Regions from separate parts of the Homo sapiens genome. Here regions 1 and 2 are each linked to region 3. Evidence: promoter capture Hi-C in 16 types of primary human blood cells and fetal thymus (Javierre and others, 2016). All regions are on one chromosome and are shown on one strand. Each heading gives the region's core, a stretch centred on a gene start or on the middle of the fragment in contact. The rest is flanking DNA. Distances are from core to core; before and after follow the strand shown. Region 1 holds the start of BRF2 (BRF2 general transcription factor IIIB subunit). Region 2 overlaps RAB11FIP1 (RAB11 family interacting protein 1). Region 3 holds the start of FGFR1 (fibroblast growth factor receptor 1).

Region 1 (3,278 bases), core at 741-3,240, 620 kb before region 3:
GCAATGCTGAAAATAGGAAAAGTGAAAAGCTGGGCTAGGCCACCAGGATAGTTTTCTTTTATTATTATTATTATTATTATTATTATTATTATTTTTTGAGACAGAGTCTCGCTCTGTCACCCAGGCCGGAGTGCTGTGGTGCGATCTCGGCTCACTGCAAGCTCCGCCTCCCGGGTTCACGCCATTCTCCTGCCTCAGCCTCCCGAGTAGCTGGGACTACAGGCACCCACCATCACGCCCGGCTAATTTTTTTGTATTTTTAGTAGAGATGGGGTTTCATCGTGTTAACCAGGATGGTCTCAATCTCCTGACCTCGTGATCCGCCCGCCTCGGCCTCCCAAAGTGCTGGGATTACAGGCATGAGCCACCGCGCCCGGCTCATTATTATTTTTTTGAGATGGAGTCTCACTCTGTCACCCAGGCTGGAGTGCAGTGGCGCGATCTCAGCTCACTGCAACCTCCACCTCCCAGGTTCAAGCGATTCTCCTGCCTCAGCCTGCCAAGTAGCTGGGACTACAGGTACATGCCACCATGCCCAGCTAATTTTTGTATTTTTAGTAGAGACGGGGTTTCGCTATGTTTGCCAGGCTGGTCTTGAACTCCTGACCTCAGGTGATCCACCTGCCTAGGCCTCCCAAAGTGCTGGGATTACAGGCGTGAGCCACAGCACCTGGCCTAGGATAGTTTTCTTTAAAGCCACTGTGTTGTAAAAGGTCAATTCTCACCTCGTTGCTGGCTGCGACTAACTTGTTCGTTTTCCCCTGTGCTTCGGGAATATGTTACCTCTGTAAGATAATAAACAACAAATAGTGTGCTTAGCCTTTATTCATCAGACCCCTGCCCTCCCACCACACAAAACCAGGACGCAAAATTCAAATCATTGAGCATCTGCTGCTGCACAGTTAAAGGCCCCATCTGGTTTTCTATGTCTACAAGAGGTTCCGAATACACAGAGACTGGGAAAGGTTAGGACTGCATTAAAGCAGCTCCAAGTGTTCCAAATTTCCAGTCATCCTTCCAGTACATTCCATACAGGCAATTTTCCTAGCAGCAGATTTTGTTGTTGTTTGTTTAAGGAGTTTCCCTCTATAGTCCAGGCTGGAGCACAGTGGTGCGATCACAGCTCACGGCAGCCTTCAACTTCCAGGCTCAAGCAATCCTCCTACCTCAGATTCCTGGGTAGCTGGGATTACAGGTGTATGCCACCATACCTGGCTAATTAAAAAAAAATTTTTTTAGGCACTTGTCTCGTTACGTTACCAAGGCTGGTCTCGAGATCCTGGGCTCAAGCAATCCTCTCGGCTCTGCCTCCCAAAGCACTGGGATTACAGGCGTAAGCCACCCCACCCAGACAATGGCTGCAGATTTTGAGGGCTGCACTGGTCAGAAACTTGGAAAGCAAAGAAAAGTGATGTTTTGCCAGTTTGTGCTTAAAACTATTTCAGGGTAATAATACCTGCTATAATCGTATCGGCAATCCTTCCACAATGACCAGACATGGCAAGATGAGTGGAACTTTTGTTTCTGTCTCACTTATTCAATATTTATTACACGCACCATCTATGCCCGATACTAAGTGCTGGGAAAACACAGATGAATGGCAGCCCCCATCTCCTTCAGCTCCCTCGCTCACTTTAGGTCATTTTCTCTCAAATTAAGTGTGTGCGTTACAGTTAGGAGTATGGGGGGAGCGGGGAGGCAAAAGGAATCTGATGTTAATCCCTCCACCGCCCCAGGCTGTCCCCAGGGCCACAAGTACCTCGGAGATTGCCCTCGTCGCTGAAGGTAGTGGTAAGGACCCCCTCGGTGACCACGCAGCCGCAGTCGGAGCACACCAGCTGGCTCTGCGAATAGTGCGAGTCTTCCACCAGCTCCGTGGAGCCGCAGTCCGGGCAGCGGCCTCTGCCTGGCATCTCACAACCGGCCCCAAAGCCGCGGAAGCCTTCAGAGACTCCTGGGTCTGCAACAGCAACCGTGAGGCAGCAAGAAGTAGGAGGGGACACTTCAAAGGGTTGCACCCCCGTCTTCCGGCCAGCGCGACGGAGGCATAGGCGGTTCCCTCCGCTGGGAGGCTGCGCGCCACTTCCGGTCTGTGCCTCCGCGGGCTCGGGTAGAAACGTGAGCTAGGAGAGGAGGTTCCTGGGCTGAACTGTAGCTGTCTGGTTTCCCTGCACTCTGTAGTTAGTTTTTGGGACCTAGACTGGGGTTGAATTTGGGAAAGTTTTTGCCTACATGGACACGTATAACAGACAGAAGATTGTTGTCACCCCTGAACAACCCTCCTTTTAAAGTCCTAAGGGAATCGCAGGTTGGTAATGAATGTTTAATTGGCCATAGAAGAAAGTATATTTTTTAAAGGGAGAGTAGTGGAGAGAGAGCGGGAGCAGGAAACTGTGTTCTGCTTTCCAGAGCTGCTTCCTAAAGCAGATTCCTTCCTCTCTTTACCTCCTGTTTTTCTCAACTGTAAAATGAGGAAGTTGAAAAAAAAATCCAGAGATGCAAACCCAAACGCTTTTGGAGGCCAGGCAGGAATGTCTAAAGGAGTTTGGAGTGAAAGAATATGGAGTGATGGAGACCTGGAGCGGCGCAAGCACGCAGATTCAGATGTTTTTTAAAAAACCTTGAGCTATCTGGGCGTGGTGGCTCACGCCTGTAATCCCAGCACTTTGGAAGGCCGAGGCAGGTGGATCACCTGAGCTCGGGAGTTTGAGACCAGCCTGGGCAACATGGTGAAATCCCGTCTCTACTAAAAATACACAAAAATTAGCTGGGCGTGGTGGTGCACGTCTCTAATCCCAGCTACTCAGGAGGCTGAGGCAGGAGAATCGCTTGAACCCAGGAGGCGCAGGAGGCGCAGTGAGCCAAGATCGCGCCACTGCACTCCAGCCTGGGTGGCAGAGCGAGACTCCATCTCAAACAAAATAAAACATACCTTTAAGAAGTGTCACTCCCTTCTTTTCCACACCCAGTTTTTACACGTGATATCCAAACCTAAAGACACCATCCCTTCCCTAAGAGACTGCTTTCTCAGAGTGTGAGAATCACTACTCCTTTTCAGAGACATCCCGTCCATTCCCATGGGGATCGCTCACATTGGAGGGCCAAGAGACACAATAATACCCAACGGTCCTTTCTCTTCAATTTGAATTACTTTAGTATCATAACAGAAGGGGGCTTCAGCACATTAATCGTGGGTGGGATCCGGCAGTCCAAGCCCCCCCGCCTTTTCTAGACCTCCCCACTAGCGTGAGATACAGGATGAGAGCTTATTTCTGGCT
Region 2 (3,233 bases), core at 1-2,500, 590 kb before region 3:
CATCTTTTGTAACATAGAGAAAAGAGGGTTCAAATTTAAATTCTTTTTGAGAAACATTTAAGCTTCTCATTTAAATGTCCAAAGATGAAAGAAGAAAGGAAGGAAACTAACATAGCTTGCCATCAGTCATAAATCGTTGAGATTACTTAAAGGCCAGTATACAAAGTCATCAAGAAGAACTTAAAATGAATTCACAAAATACAGCAAGGAGAGGATAAAATTATATGAGCTATAATTTTGGACCCTTAGGAGACAAATCTTTTATGGTTTTTATAACCTCAATCCAGAGCTGGGCAGGCGGGGAGTGGTGGGTGTTGCAAGACGCAAGGTCTTTTTTTATTTTTTATTTTTTGCAACAGGGTCTCACTCTCTTGCCCAGGCTGGAGTGCAGTGGTGCGATCATAGCTCACTGCAGCCCTGGACTCCTGGGCTCAAGTGGAAAATGCAAGGTCTTTATAGACAATGTCACCCTTGCCAGCCTAGTGTCTGTCCAATACATTTTCCAGGGCCTGGCCTGGAATTGTCTGCATATTTGTCACTTCAATTTTGAGAGGATTATTTATATTTTTCTCTTCTGACAGTCATGTGGTAAATGGTAGCCTTGGTGATGAAGGGTGTTTAGCTTTTGTAAATACCAGTTGCAGGCACCTGAAAAGGAGAAGTTGCTGAACGCTAACTGAGGAGGTTTCGATGACCTCACCAACCGCAGGCGGGCAGCACGCTTCACCTCCCCGCCCAGGGCAGGAGCTTCAGGCAGGGGTTTCTCCACAGCTCTTCCACACGGGCCCTTCTATTAGCCCTCCACGGGGATGCACAAATGTGACAGGCCTCCAAAGCAGCTGTCAGAGGCATTCAAACCAGTGCAACTCCATCTTGAGTGAGGGCTAGGAAAATGAGGCTGGGACTTGCTGCGCTGCATTCCCAGAAAGTTAGGTATTCCTAGCCTCTAGATGTTTATGGGTAAGGGAACAGATGGATAATGTTTACCAAACAGACCCAGACTTGGGAGTGTTCTAATATCCCCAAATCTGGAGAACAAAGGCTATCCTAATTTTGCTTTGAAGCTAATAATATTGATTCTCACAAAATATAGTAATTAAGAAAATTAATCCTTTATCACAAACCCTTGTAGTAGGGCACATCTCTCAATGATCTTTTTATCCTGTGTATGAATAAGCATAGTGCCTAGAGTGGAGGTGTTCCTCCTCTTACTTTCGGGAACGTCCTACTCTGTCTATGGAGTAGCTGTACCTTCAATACTTTGCTTTCTTAATAAACTTGCTTTTACTTTGCACTGCAGACTTGCCCTGAATTCTTTCTTGCGGGAGACCAAACACTCTCTTTTGGGGTCTGGATCAGGACCCCTTTCCTGTAACATAGCCAGTTGACAATTCCAAGGGCCAGCCTTGCCTTTCCGAAAGTATCAGTGAGGTTTTCTTTGCACTTCCTAATGGTTTTTGAGCAAAACTACAACCGATTCCAGAATCCTCCCTCGGGACCAATTATTACCTGATTCTCAGGTCCAATCCCTGGGTCCTAAAGTGGGATTTGCTTTGGAAACTTCCAACACCATTAGGAAGTGCAAATATAAACGTCACCAACTGTTCTTGCTGCTTAATTTCACAAGCAAACCTAAAGCCAAACACCAGGTAGCCAGGCACCAGCCACGGGGCTATTGAAGGATATGAAACAGGCTGAATCACAGGCCAGCAGGGAAACAGCCCAGGCAAAGAGGCAGAATTTACAAATCTGTGCTCCATGTATTAAAGCTGGAAAGCAAAACAAGAATTGTTTCGTTTTTTTTTTTTTCTGGTTTTTTTTTCTTGGTGTTTGTTTGTTTGTCTGTTTGTTTTAGAGACTGAGTCTCACTCTATCGCCCAGGCTGGAGTGCAGTGACGTGATCTCAGCTCACTGCAACCTCCTCCTCCTGGGTTCAACCGATTCTCCTGCCTCAGCTTGCTGAGTAGCTGGGATTACAGGCGTGCGCAACTATGCCCAACTAATTTTATGTTGGCCAGGCTGGTCTCAAACTCTTGACCTCAGGTGATCCGCCTGCCTCAGCCTCCCCAAGTGTTGGGATTACAGGCGTGAGCCACTGTGCCCAGCCAAGAATTGTTTCTTTTACTAGCAATATTATCCTCAAATTCAAAAACAGTTTAAGCAAGGGATGTTTGATAGAAGCATACTTTGATAAGACAGTGAAAGCCACAGTGCTTGAATATCTTGCCCTAAGAAATCCCAAACCAGAAGAACACATCTGGGGATTTTTATATTTAAGATCAACCCAGTTTCTAAGTGTTACTGCCCATGTGTTTTTCAGTTCACTTAATTCCTGCACCTCACAGAAGTAGCTCATAAATAATAAAGTCCCAGCCTAGCAACACAGCATGTGATGGCAGCGTGGGTGTGTTCCAGTATTATCTTTCACGTAGGCCCTGAAAGCTTGAATTATCTCAGAAATCAGGGTTGGGTCCATTTCCCTAGTCCAAAGGGCAGAAAAAGAGAGCCATAATCCCAATGTAGCAAGTTTATTTTTAAGCCCATATTCTGAAAAAATCTTGCCACCTATCAAAAGTAAAAATCAAATGATCCCTTCAATAAACAAATTATTATTGCTTATCATTAAACTCAGTCCTGCAAGAATTAAAAGGATCTCTGGATATGTAGAAAGTGACATAATTTTATTTATTTATTTATTTATTTATTTATTTTTGAGACAGAGTCTCATTCTATTGTCTATTGCCCAGGCTGGAGTACAGTGGCATGATCTCAGCTCACTGCAACCACCGTCGCCCAGGTTCAAGTGATTCTCCTCCCTCAGCCTCCCGAGTAGCTGGGAGTACAGGCGCACACCACTGCATCCGGCTAATTTTTGTATTTTTACTAGAGACAGGGTTTCACCATCTTGGCCAGGCTGGTATCGAACTCCTGACCTCATGATCCACCTGCTTCGGCCTCCCAAAGTGCTGGGAATACAGGCGTGAGCTACCACACCCGGCCAACATAAAATTTCTATAAACTATATACACACACATATATATTTTGAGATGGGGTCTTGCTCTGTTGTCCAGGCTGGAGTACAGTGCACATTCATAGCTCACAGCAGCTTCAAAGTTCTAGGCTCAAGCCATCCTCCCACCTCAGCCTCTTGAGGAGCTGGGACTAAAAGCATGTGCCACCACACCCAACTAGTTGTTGTTGTTGTTGAGACAGTCTTGCTCTGTTGCCCAGGC
Region 3 (3,283 bases), core at 160-2,659:
AACTTCCGACCCTTTCAGAGACCGTCCAAGTCATAAGATCACCCCTTCTGGAAAGGGGAGTCGTTTTTCGCTCTCAGCTCAAGCAGATTCAGCCATTTGGTGACGACACCTCCTTAAAACCTATTCCAAGAGAAGCTAACCTAGCCCTCCACGTCCTCCGCAGTTCATCTCCCACCCCATCCGACCCCAACCCGCACCCCAGGCTTTCCCGGGGGTGGAAAAGGACTTAGGAATGCCCCGGATTTTTAGCGTTGAGCCCAAAGCTACCTGCTGAATTGGGGGTGAATCCCCAAAAGGGGACCAAAAAGACATGGAGTGGAATGCAACACACACACATAACACACACAACGCATCCCACCTCGCCGCCCACTCCCGCCCTCCTCCCCAGTCCAGGAAACCGCGGGCCTCGCCGCCTTCGCCCCGGGCCTGTCCCTCCCGGGACTCACTGAGGAGCCGCCGCCGCCTCGCCAGCTCCCGAGCGCGAGTTGGAGGAAAAGTTGGGCGGCGGGAAGAGCGGCGGGACGAGCGCAGGGAGGGGGCGCAGGAGACGCGGACGGAGGGAAGGGAGGGGAGACCCAAGGGGCGCGGATCGCCCGGGAGGGAGCCAGGAGGTGAAAGGGGCGGGCGGCGAGCGGAGGGAGGCGCCGGCCCCGGCTGGGCTGCGGCGGGCAAAGCGCGCAGCCGGGAGGCTCCGGCGCCGGGGGCCGCTCGGGACGCCAAGCCCGCCCCAGATCCGGGGGCGCCGCGGCTCTTACCTCGCTCGGCGTGGAGGTTCCGCCTCGGGAGAGTCCGCCGTGGCTTGTGCGAGCGGGCGTGTGCCCGCGTCCCCGGCTCCGGCCCGCCGCCCCCGGGCTCTGTTCGGGTCCTGGCGGGGTCGCAAGAGCTCCGCGGCCGGCGCTCGACTCCCGGCGGCGCTCGGTGCTCGGCGCCTCCAGCCCGGGCGGGAACAATGGAGCCGGAGCTGGTGCCCCGGAGGCGGGGCGGGGGGAGGGCTCCCGTCCGCCACCCGGGGTCTCCAGACCTTGTGCCCCCCTCCTCCAGAACGCAGCGGCGGCGCCTCACTTTCCTTGCAGACCGGGCTCCATCGCCCTGCGGAGGCCCCGGCGCCGCGGCGTGCCCGACTGCAGCACGGGTACCGTGCGCCCTGCGGGGCGCCCCGAGCTCGGACCGGAGAAAAGTCCTTGGGTTCCGCGGCTTTTCAAGCAGCGGCGCGCTCGCGGCCGGGGAAGGCGAGGTCGCCGCAATGCGCTACGAGGGGTCTCGGTCCCGTCCGGACGTGGCCGCCCAGCTCCCGGCACACCCGGGTTCCTCCGCGCGCTGCGGCTGCACCGGCGTCCCGGCTCCCGCTAGCTGCCGCCCGCCGCCGAGGACGCCGCGCCTGTGGCCGCAAGAGCGCTCCGAGCGCTATGCGCCGGCGGGGCGCGAGGGCTCGCTCTCTCACTCCCACCCGCGCTGGTCCCTCCTCCGCCTCCGCCCCCTGCAGCTGCCTGCTGGGCCTTGTAGTTCCCCAGCCGCGGCCCCAAAGGACGGGGAGCGGGCCGAGCTGTCCGGCGCTCTGCCCTTCTCTTCCTACAGCCTGGTCTCCTTTGGCGTTTGCGCCCCTGCATCTGAGCACGTCCCAGAGGGCGCCGGAATGTCAGGCCCTAGACATAGCAGCGGTTTGGGGGCTAGGGGGCAGGTGAAGAGACGCCGCAGCCTTGAGGTTGTACCTGGTAGCGTGGGCTTTGGAGTCTGTGCGCCTTGGGGAAATGATTTTCGCGCTCTAAATCTCTGTTTTCCCATCTGTAAATGGGGGATAATAGTGCTTTTCACATAGAGTTGAGGCGTCAACGAGGGCCTAGCGCATAGTTAACACTTAGTAAATACAAGCCGGTTTTATTATAAGGTCAGCCCCTCCTCAAACCCTTCCCTTGGATTTCAGCTTTCCCCAGCCACATAATTTAGGTTTTGTGGTCCACCGGGAACTGGACCCTGTAAATTCTACAGCGATGCTGTTGGCTTCCAGAAGTCTCCAGCCTGCAGTGAATGTCTAGGAAGCAAAGAGTAAGCAGTGGGAGTTGAGGGGAGACGTGTGGTTGGTTTGGAAATTAATCACAGCCCACTCAGAACACCCTCCAGTACTGTGGAACACAGGAAAGTGGCTAAAATGCTTCCCCCTGAGTCTTCCCGCGAAGTGGTATAATGTAGTGGTTCCCTAATCCAGATGGACACGGGTCCTAGGGAACGTCTGAAAAATACAAGTTCATGGGCCTGCTCAGACATGAGGAATCACGCTGTCCCAGGAAGGAGCCAAGAGCCTTTATTTTTTCCAAGGCTCCTTGGGGCGTGTGATGTGAGCCCAGGCTGAGGCCACCATTGGGGTGGGAAGTAGGCAGCACTTGGTCTGAAGGATTCCTCCATTCTGTCCATCATTTATGAAGTTTGATGTAGGACAAATCATGCATCTGATAAAATCAAAACGGGGTATCTGTTGATACTCCTTCACAAGATGGTCATAAGAATCAAATAAAATAATAGCTCTCAGTGGACCAAAAATATTACACAAATGGAAGTCACTATGAAAGGTAGTGGCAGGGCCTGTTCCCTTACCATCACCCACCTCAACCCCGAAACTTGTAGAAGTTTGAATACTGAATGAGATCCCCCCACCCAACTCCTCACCCAACCCACCCACGCCTCCCTGGCTAATTTAAGAAAAGAGTTGGCCGGGTGCGGTGGCTTATGCCTGTAATCCCAGCACTTTGGGAGGCCGAGGCGGGTGGATCACGAGGTCGGGAGATCGAGACTATCCTTGCCAACAAGGTGAAACCCCGTCTCTACTAAAATACAAAAAAATTAGCCAGGCATGGTGGCGCTTGCCTGTAATCCCAGCTACTGGGGAGGCTGCGGCAGAGGAATCGCTTGAACCCGGGAGGCGGAGGTTGCAGTGAGCCGAGATTGTGCCACTGCACTCCAGCCTGGCAACAGAGCAAGACTCCGTCTCAAAAAAAAAAAGAAAAGAAAAGAAAAAATGGTCCTCGCGCTATTTTTCTAATCCACCAGTAGGTGACAGACTAGTGGCCAACACAGTGTTATTCACATAGTAGACACTCATGAAATCCCTTGACTGGCCAAAGAGCAAATATTCAATAAGTATTTGTTGAACAAATGAGTAAATAAACAACTAAATTACAGCTCACGCCTGTAATCCCAGCACTTTGGGTGGCCGAAGCGGGAGGATCACTTGAAGCCAGAAGTTCAAGACCAGCCTGGGAAACAAAGTGAGCCCTTGTCTCTACAAAAT

Evidence for each region. The method cuts DNA at HindIII sites, captures the fragments that hold promoters and counts their contacts. A CHiCAGO score of 5 or more calls a contact.
Region 1: a contact is called between the fragment with the promoter of BRF2 here and the fragment with the promoter of FGFR1 in region 3, in 10 of 17 cell types (non-activated CD4 T cells, activated CD4 T cells, naive CD4 T cells and 7 more). The highest score is 14.6, in non-activated CD4 T cells.
Region 2: a fragment that was not itself captured here is called in contact with the fragment with the promoter of FGFR1 in region 3 in 1 of 17 cell types (naive CD8 T cells); the score reaches 5.5 in naive CD8 T cells.

What each region holds. Positions count from the first base shown.
Region 1 is chr8:37,847,871-37,851,148 of GRCh38, forward strand. BRF2 (BRF2 general transcription factor IIIB subunit) reads right to left here and starts at 1,991. Exons shown (of 4, transcript NM_018310.4): 1 at 1,760-1,991; 2 at 726-785. The coding sequence starts at 1,913. RefSeq lists enhancers at 1,667-1,806, 1,847-2,196. The HindIII fragment of the contact is 8,285 bases long and covers 1-3,278 here.
Region 2 is chr8:37,881,363-37,884,595 of GRCh38, forward strand. The region is part of intron 1 of RAB11FIP1 (RAB11 family interacting protein 1); the gene reads right to left. Among named protein-coding and RNA genes, the nearest start is that of RAB11FIP1, 17 kb to the right of the region's middle. RefSeq lists enhancers at 1-65, 463-572, 1,981-2,100. The HindIII fragment of the contact is 2,380 bases long and covers 61-2,440 here.
Region 3 is chr8:38,467,226-38,470,508 of GRCh38, forward strand. It overlaps FGFR1 (fibroblast growth factor receptor 1), which reads right to left and starts at 1,410. Exons shown (of 18, transcript NM_023110.3): 1 at 756-1,410. RefSeq lists silencers at 693-812, 823-952, 1,223-1,292 and enhancers at 1,150-2,136, 1,573-1,742. The HindIII fragment of the contact is 10,295 bases long and covers 1-3,283 here.